Regions from separate parts of the Homo sapiens genome. Here region 2 is linked to region 1. The links are contacts of gene promoters, found by promoter capture Hi-C in human tissues and cell types (Jung and others, 2019). All regions are on one chromosome and are shown on one strand. The core of a region is centred on a gene start or on the middle of the fragment in contact, and the rest is flanking DNA. Distances in the headings are between cores, read along the strand shown.

What was found. Contacts are between HindIII fragments. The study calls those that stand out against the background at their distance.
Region 2: a contact is called between a fragment that was not itself captured here and the fragment with the promoter of ZNF680 in region 1, in 2 of the 25 tissues and cell types used here (hippocampus and mesenchymal stem cells).

What each region holds. Positions count from the first base shown.
Region 1 is chr7:64,559,992-64,564,464 of GRCh38, forward strand. It overlaps ZNF680 (zinc finger protein 680), which reads right to left and starts at 3,080. Exons shown (of 4, transcript NM_178558.5): 1 at 2,934-3,080. The coding sequence starts at 2,963. RefSeq lists an enhancer at 2,669-3,028 and a silencer at 3,129-3,238. The HindIII fragment of the contact is 27,021 bases long and covers 1-4,473 here.
Region 2 is chr7:64,706,650-64,711,626 of GRCh38, forward strand. It overlaps ZNF107 (zinc finger protein 107), which reads left to right. Exons shown (of 4, transcript NM_001282359.2): 4 at 1-4,928. The coding sequence ends at 2,007. Among named protein-coding and RNA genes, the nearest start is that of MIR6839, 30 kb to the left of the region's middle. The HindIII fragment of the contact is 5,049 bases long and covers 494-4,977 here.

The DNA of each region.
Region 1 (4,473 bases), core at 1,830-4,329:
CTAGAAATATTCACTGTCACAAATTTACCATGCAAAAAGAGGTACTAATGTTTTCAAGAATCTATGTAACTTCACCAATTACCTACCACATTTTCTGGTGGAAATGTATTCATTTTCTTTTCTGTTTTTTTTTTTTTTTTGAGATGAAGTTTCACTCTTTCGCCCAGGCTGGAATGAAGTGGCACAATCTTGGCTCACTGCAACCTCCACCCCCCGGGTTCAAGCAATTTTCCTGCTTCAGCCTCCCAAGTAGCTGGAATTACAGGCATGTACCACCACGCCCGGCTAATTTTTGTATTTTTAGTAGCGACAAGGCTTCACCATGTTGGCCAGGCTGGCCTCGAATTCCTGACCTCAGGTGATCCACCCCTCTTGGCATCCTAAAGTGCTAGGATTACAGGCGTGTGCCACTGCACTCGGCCGGAAATGTATTCATTTTCTAAAGCCAAAATGGAGAAGAGATTTTCTCTATTTTTTCCCTAGATAGCTAGCATTCTAAAAGTTAAGGCTTGGAATTCTGTTTGAAATTACCCAGCTAGGCTGGGTGCGGTGTCTCATGCCTGTAATCCCAATACTTTGGGAGGCCAAGGCGGGTGGATCACCTGAGATCAAGAGTTTGAGACCAGACTGGCCAACATGGTGAAACCTCATCCCTACTAAAAATACAAAAATTAGCTGAGTGTGGTGGCTAGCGCCTGTAGTCTCAGCTACTCAGGAGGCTGAGGGAGGAGAATCGCTTGAACCCAAGAGACAGAGGTTGCAGTGAGCCAAGATCATGTGACTGCACTCCAGCCTGGGTGACAGAATGAGACTGTCTCAAAAAAAAAAAAAATTACCCAGCCGTAAAAAAACTACCTGTGACAATTACTAAACTCAGTCTGGAAAACAAAATAGTAAATGAGAATTTTTAACAAATGGAATATATGTAGATATTAATTTTTTTCTGAAACTCACCTCTTTTACACCATTCGTAAATATTTTACCTTTTAATTTCCTTTACAAATTTTTCACTATTTGTCTTTCACTCTTTTTTCATCATTTTTTTTCACTATTTTTCTGCCCCCTTAGAGAATCCAGAAATTATTTCTATGTTTTTCCCTCAATACCAGCATCTGATTGACCAGCAATGTGTCCCAAGGAAACGGAAGCTGAGTTGGGTGAAGACAATCTTAATGTCTCAAGGTGTCAGCCTTTCCAAGGAAGAGTGCACCAGGAGATTTCTCTCAGCTCCAGGGCATCCACCTGCTCCCTCGAGAGGCTACACTTTGTACCTCAGGCAGTCCTGTGGGAGAAAATGACCCAGGAGCTGATATTCATTAGGCACTCTAGCAGACATAGTCATGGTGGGTATCATGGTTTATTCCCAGACAGTACTGAAACCCAGGACCAGGAAAAATCTGAAGGGTAGCCGAGGACACATCACCCCATAAAGTTTCCAAAGGGAAACTGTGACCCCCCAAAATTCTGATAAGATCTCTGTGCCTATGGAAGATAAAAGGAAAAGAGGCGCAGAGATTTTTTACAATAGTGTCCAGGGATTACTCTTTGCTTTCTTCTTACAGAAAATTTTTACAAACGGAAAACAAATCTTTTAAAAAGTACCATCCAATGATTTCTCAAAAAATGATTAATTAAAATATAGTATCAAAAATGTACACTAGGGCCGGGCGCGGTGGCTGACGCCTGTAATCCCAGCACTTTGGGAGGCCGAGGCGGGTGGATTACGAGGTCAGGAGATCAAGACCATCCTGGCTAACTTGGTGAAACCCTGTCCCTACTAAAAATACAAAAAAATTAGCCAGGCGTGGTGGCGGGCGCCTGTAGTCCCAGCTACTCAGGAGGCTGAGGCAGGAGAATGGCGTCAACCCAGGAGGCGGAGCTTGCAGTGAGCCGAGATCGCGCCACTGCACTCCAGCCTGGGCGACAGAGCAAGACTCCGTCTCAAAAAAAAAAAAAATTTACATTAGGCACAGTGGCTCACGCCTGTAATCCCAGCACTTTGAGAGGCCGAGGCGGGCAGATCACAAGGTCAGGAGTTCAAGACCAGCCTGTCCAACATGGTGAAACCCGTCTCTACTAAAAATACAAAAATTAGCCGGGCATGGTGGCGGGCGCCTGTAATCCCAGCTACTCGGGAGGCTGAGACAGGAGAATCACTTGAACCCGGGAGGCAGAGGTTGTAGTGAGCCGAGATCGTGCCACTGCACTTCAGCCTGGGCGACAGAGCGAGACTCCGTTTCAAAAAAAAAAAAAAAAAAATCTAACTCAAATACATTGTTTTTTGTAAAGTATTACATTGGGGGAAATAAAATTCTTGCTTAACCAACTATAAACTGCCAAGTACCCTCCGATTACATAACCAGAAAATTTCCACTTTGATCTTACAAATTAAGAAGTTATGTAACTGTACCTAACCGATTATTGAATTTGGTTTTATTCATCATACACCACTTAAAAGTCTTTCCTTCAAGCCCCTCCCATGGACCACAAATTACAAATCATAGCTGGGTGCTCTACGATTTTTGAACCACTCTTCTATTACATTTTTAAATATATTTGCAGTGACTTCCATGAATTTTTAATAGAAAAAAGGAGGGACTGGGACCCCATGGACCAAAGCGCTTCCCATTTATGAACCCTGCACCCCGAGTTATCGGCAGAGATGCGGCACTGCGGGTGCAGAGCTGCCCAGCGAGGGCTCCAGGCCAAGGCACAGTCACTGCGCAGGGAGGAGACATGACGCCCGGGGTCCGGCTGTCAGCCCAGCCGCCATCTTATGGCTGAAGGGGACTGAGGACCGAGCTGCGCCAAGGACAACTCGGGCCGCGGATTTTGGAGCCCAGTGCTTGGAGCCTGGAGTCCTGCCACAGCCACTTCCGACCGGTTCCAACCAGCCCCTCCCCCTCTCTCGGGGTGTCGGACCGCACTCTCACCATTTCTAGGCTTCCAGGTGGTCCTGGCATCTTAGCTGTGCATCTCCCAATACCTGCAGATAACGGAGTCACAGAGGCTGGGCCTCTAGGAGCAGAATACACAGAGCAGTAAAGACTAGACCTGGAGCTCCCGCAGCAGCTAGAGACAAAGGCCCCGCCAAATCCCGGAAGCCGTCCTGTCCGCTCCAGCTGCGTGCCTGATTGGACGGGTCCCAGCCCCGCGTCCCTGATTGGATAATGTTTAGGGCGCCACCCCCTAATGCCCTGAGTGACAGAATATGTGCTCAGCGGCTGGGCTGAACGTAGAAAGAGTGAAATCCAAGCTGCAGGGTTCTCAGGGAAGGGCTTCCTCCCTGAACGGACCAGGCTCACACCAGAGAGTATTTGCATATAACCCTGCGTATAAGGTCGTATGCCTTTATAAATAATATATTATGTGGCTATTCACACATGAAAATAATGCAATAACAATTATTTAAAATTTTCCAATTTTATGAGCTCCTGGCTTCTTGTCCTTTGAGCGGGTAGCCTGACATTTTTTTTTAAAAAGGCAGTCCTCTGAAATTGAATGTGAGCCACGTGAATTCTAAATTTTCTAGAAGGAAAATTTTAAAAAGAAAAAAAAACAGGAGGAATTCATTGTAGAAATTTAATTAACCCAATATATCCAAAATATTATCATTTTAATATGTGACCAGTATGTAATTATTAACAAAGTATATATATTTTGGAAAAAAAATTAAAACTATGTATTTTACCTTTCTACCACATCGCAGTTCAGACCAGCCACATTCCATGCACCCAGTAGCCACAGGTGGCCAATAGCTGCCACATTGAAGTGCAGCTCTGATGGCAGAAGATGAAATCCTGAACATCCCTTTTCTTTTTTCTTTTCTTTTCTTCCTTTCTTTTTATTTCCTTTCTCTTCTCTTCTTTTCTTTCTTTTCCTTTCTCTTCTCTTCTTTTCTTTTCAAACAGAGTCTTGCTCTTATGTCCAGGCTGGAGTGCAGTGGTGCAATCTCGGCTCACTGCAATCTCCACATTCCGGATTCAAGCAATTCTCCTGCCTTATTTTCCCCAGAGTAGCTGTGATTACAGGCATGTGCCACCATGCCTGGCTTATTTTTGTATTTTTAGTAGAAATGGAATTTTGCCATGTCAGCCAGGCTGGACTCAAACCCCTGACCTTAAGTAATCCTTCTGTCTCATCCTCCCAAAGTGCTGGGATTACAGCCATGAGCCACCACACTGGGCTTGAACATCCTTTTCCTGCCATAAATAAGGGGAAAGTCTTTCCCTACCAACATCTCTCTTCAGTTCCAAGGGTAGAACAGATAGTGGCCATAGAAAGAGCAGAGGACAGCAGGAATAAAATAACAACAGGAAGACCACCTGTTGCCCACCTTTCTTCCAGAGATCAGACAGTGAACAAAGGACGATGGGGCCACAGAAGAAGAATGCTCTATGTCTACAGATCCCTCCCTGGTCTTTCTTTTTCTTTTTTTCTTTTTTGAGACAGAGTTTTGCTCTTGTCACCCAG
Region 2 (4,977 bases), core at 1,768-4,267, 150 kb after region 1:
CTTTCACAACTAACTCAGCATAGAAGAATTCATACTAGAGTGAATTCCTACAAATGTGAAGAATGTGGAAAAGCCTTTAACTGGTTCTCAACTCTTACTAAACATAAGAGAATTCATACTGGAGAAAAGCCCTACAAATGTGAAGAATGTGGCAAAGCCTTTAACCAGTCCTCACAACTTACTAGGCATAAGATAATTCATACTGAAGAGAAACCCAACAAATGTGAAGAATGTGGCAAGGCCTTTAAACAGGCCTCACACCTTACTATACATAAAATAATTCATACTGGAGAAAAACCTTACAAATATGAAGAATGTGGCAAAGTCTTTAGCCAGTCCTCACACCTTACTACACAAAAGATACTTCACACTGGAGAGAACCTCTACAAGTGTAAAGAATGTGGAAAAGCTTTTAACCTATTCTCAAATCTTACTAACCATAAGAGAATTCATGCTGGGGAGAAACCCTACAAATGTAAAGAATGTGGCAGAGCTTTTAACATATCCTCAAACCTTAATAAACAGGAGAAAATTCATACTGGAGGGAAACTCAACAAATGTGAAGAATGTGACAAAGCTTTTAACCGATCCTTAAAACTTACTGCACATAAGAAAATTCTAATGGAAGAGAAACCCTACAAATGTGAAGAATGTGGCAAAGTCTTTAACCAGTTCTCAACTCTTACTAGACATAAGATAATTCATACTGGAGAGAAACCCTACAAATGTAAAGAATGTGGCAAAGCTTTTAACCAATCTTCAAACCTTACTGAACATAAGAAAATTCATACTGCAGAGAAATCCTATAAATGTGAAGAATGTGGCAAAGCTTTTAACCAACACTCAAACCTAATTAACCATAGGAAAATTTATTCTGGAGAGAAACCATACAAATGTGAAGAATGTGGAAAAGCTTTTAATCGATCCTCAACCCTTACTAGACATAAGAAAATTCATACTGGAGAGAAACCCTACAAATGTGAAGAATGTGACAGAGCTTTTAGCCAGTCTTCAAACCTTACTGAACATAAGAAAATTCATACTGGAGAGAAACCCTATAAATGTGAGGAATGTGGCAAAGCTTTTAACCGATTCTCAACCCTTACTAAACATAAGAGAATTCATACTGGAGAAAAACCCTATAAATGTGAAGAATGTGGAAAAGCCTTTAATCAATCCTATCAACTTACTAGACATAAGATAGTTCATACTAAAGAGAAACTCAACAAATGTGAAGAATTTGGCAAGGCCTTTAAACAGTCCTCACACCGTACTATACATAAAATTATTCATACTGGAGAGAAACCCTACAAATGTGAAGAACATGGCAAAGTTTTTAACCAGTCCTCAAACCTTACTACACAAAAGATAATTCATACTGGAGAGAACCTCTACAAATTTGAAGAACATGGAAAAGCTTTTAACCTATTCTCAAACATTACTAACCATAAGATAATTTATACTGGAGAGAAACCCCACAAATGTGAAGAATGTGGAAAAGCTTATAACCGATTCTCAAACCTAACTATACATAAGAGAATTCATACGGGAGAGAAACCTTACCAATGTGCAGAATGTGGCAAAGCCTTTAACTGCTCCTCAACCCTTAATAGACATAAGATAATTCATACTGGAGAGAAACCTTACAAATGTAAAGAATGTGGCAAAGCTTTTAACCTATCCTCAACCCTTACTGCACATAAGAAAATTCATACTGGAGAGAAACCCTATAAATGTGAAGAATGTGGCAAAGCTTTTAACCAATCCTCAAACCTTACTACACATAAGAAAATTCATACTTCAGAGAAACCCTACAAATGTGAAGAATGTGGCAAATCCTTTAACCAGTTCTCATCTCTTAATATACATAAGATAATTCATACTGGAGAGAAACCCTACAAATGTGGAGATTATGGCAGAGCTTTCAACCTATCCTCAAATCTTACTACACATAAGAAAATTCATACTGGAGAGAAACCCTACAAATGTGAGTATGGCAAAACTTAATTGATCCTACAAGCTTACTACACATAGGAAAATTCATACTGGAGAGAAACTACAAATGTGAAGAATGTGTTAAAGCCTTTAACAAGTCTTCAACTTTTTCTGCACACACGAGGTATTTTATACTGGTGAGAAACCTTACAATGTAAAGAATGTGGCACAGCTTTTAACTAATCTTCAAACCTTACTGAAAGTTGAGAAAATTCGTACTGGAGAGAATCCTACAAATGTGAAAAATGTGGCAAATCCTTTAACTGATCCTCAACTTTTACTAAACATAAGGTAATTCATACTGGAGAAAAGCCATACAAATGAGAAGAATGTGGCAATGCCTTTAATCAGTCCTCACACCTTTCTACACATAAGATAATTTATACTGGAGAGGAACTCTATAGTTGTGAAGAATGTGGCAAAGCTTTTAACCAATCCTCATACCTTACTATACAGAAATTCATACTGGAGAGAAAGCCTACAATTGTGAAGAATGTGGCAAAGCTTTTAACCTTCCTTAACCCTTAACTGTAGATAAGAAAATTCATACTGGAAAGAAACCCTACAAATGTGAAGTCTGTGGCAAAGCTTTTAACTGATTCTCAACTCTTACTACATGTAAGAGTATTTATACTGGAAAGAAACCCTACAAATGTAAAAAACGTGGCAATGCCTTTAACTGGTCCTCACACCTTGCTACATATAAGACAGTTTATACTTTGAGAGAAACCCTGCAAATGTGAATAATGTGGCAATACTTTAAACCAATCCTCAAACCTCACTAAACATAAGATAATACTGAAAACTTTACAAACCTGAATGATGTGACAATAATTTTGACAACACCTCGAACTTTCTAACATAAATCATACTGGTGAAAAATCCTAGAAATGTGAAAAATATCACAAAGCCTTTAAATGGTTGTCACACTTGATTGTAGGTAAGAATCCATACTGAAGAAAACTCCTGGAAGTGTAAAAAATGTGGCAACACTTTTAATAAATGCTCACCCCTTATTGCACAGGAAAGCATTTATACTTCAGAAAGATTGTACAAATACAAGGAATGTGGAAAAGCCATTATTATCTGCTCAGATTTTACTCAACATTAGAGAGTTAGTACGTAATAAAAGCATTATAAATGCAATTTTTGTCAAGAGATCTTTCAGAAAATATAAGCCTTTAAAGTGAAGAAGAGGAGCCAGTTGTGCTGGCTCACATCTGTAATGCCAGCACTTTGGGAGGCCAAGGTGGGTGGATCACCTGAGGGCAGGAGTCTGAGACCAGCCTGGCCAACATAGCAAAACCCCATCTCTATTAAAAATTTTACAAAAATTAGCTGCGTGTGGTGGCAGGCCCCTGTAATCCCAGCTAATTGGGAGGCTGAAGCAGGAGAATTGCTCAAACCTGGGAGGCGAAGATTGCAGTGAGCTGAAATCACACCACTACACTCCAGCCAAAGCAACAAGAGCAAAAACTTCGTCTCAAAAACAAAACAAAAAAAGAGTATTCATTGTGAGGACAAACAATACAAATACGAAGAGGGTTGTAGTACCTTTACTTGTATCACAGATACTTTTGTACCCATTTTGCACTAGAGGAAAACCATGAAGCAGTTGCTCAAATGTTGTTCAACACCAGAAAATTTATATTGGAGAAAAGCACTGTAAATGTAATGCATTTGTGAAAACATTTTTTAAAAAACTACAGCTTAGAAAATACCAGAGGCCTCATACTAAAATATATTTTTGCAAGTGAAGTAAATATAAAAATAATTTAATCCAAAATTAAGTCTATATAAATATCAGAGAATTCACAGTAGAAATATCTAAGGTACTGACACTTCAGACATTGCTGAGTATAGAATCAGAATGCTGAGTATAGAAAATAATTTAAAACTAAAGTTGGTAGGTAAATAATGTGTATATAACTTTAAAAGAAGTAGAATTTTTTTGTAGATGTATAATTACATTCAAATTATATTTTTTCTTGAAAAATTAGTTTTTGAAAAGCAAATGATGTAATTCAACTCAAATTCATGCTCTTCATTCCTATTGTATTCACATGTGAAAGCATGTGATTAATTTTTCATGCATCAAAGATATGAGAAATCATTTCTGTTAGGTCGGTATTATTTATGACACTTTCTATGAAAGAATAAGGACATTAAAATGTAAGATGCATGATGAAAACCTGAGTGAAGAGGCTGTTTGTGTTTAACTTATAATATTGAGTGATCCATGAAGTAGGTTTTCAGAGCAATATTCTTCTGCATTATAGTAAGAGAAAACCATTTTTAATCTTAGTTAAAATTAAAGTGAATTAGTAGTATATCATTTTACTATTTGTACTTTTATGTAATAAAATGCAATGTGTTTAAAAATTTTTGGATTATGCGTGAACTTAGTTTTTTAATTAAACTTTTTTTAACATGTTAAAACTATTGTGCATTCAATGAAGTGTTTTCATGCCACTGACTTTACCTATCCCACATTACTCAAGGGTTTAGGTAAAAGAGGGTAACAGTATACTACTTGATAACATAATGGGCTAACATCTCTAATAATTATTTTTGCTAGTGACTTTAAACTGCTAATAAAGAATATTGTTCCCATAGGTTAGATTTTTATTCTTTTTAAAATTTAAACTTATTTCTCTTAATTTTTGTGGATACATAGTATGTGTATATCTTTATGCCATGTATGGCATATTTTGATACAGGCATATAATTTTATGTATTAATCACATCAGGGCAAAAGATGTATCCATCAACTCCAGCATTTCTCCTTTGTATTACAAACCAATTCTGCACTTTTAGATACTTTAGAATGTACAGTCGTTACTACAGGGTCATTTTATGGTTATAATAAAAATTATATACAAGTATAAATAAACCATGAGAAAATTCTGAGTTCTGAATAAACATTTAAAAAATGTTATATATTTTTCTTTGAACATGTGACCTCTCTGCCTGCAAACATAC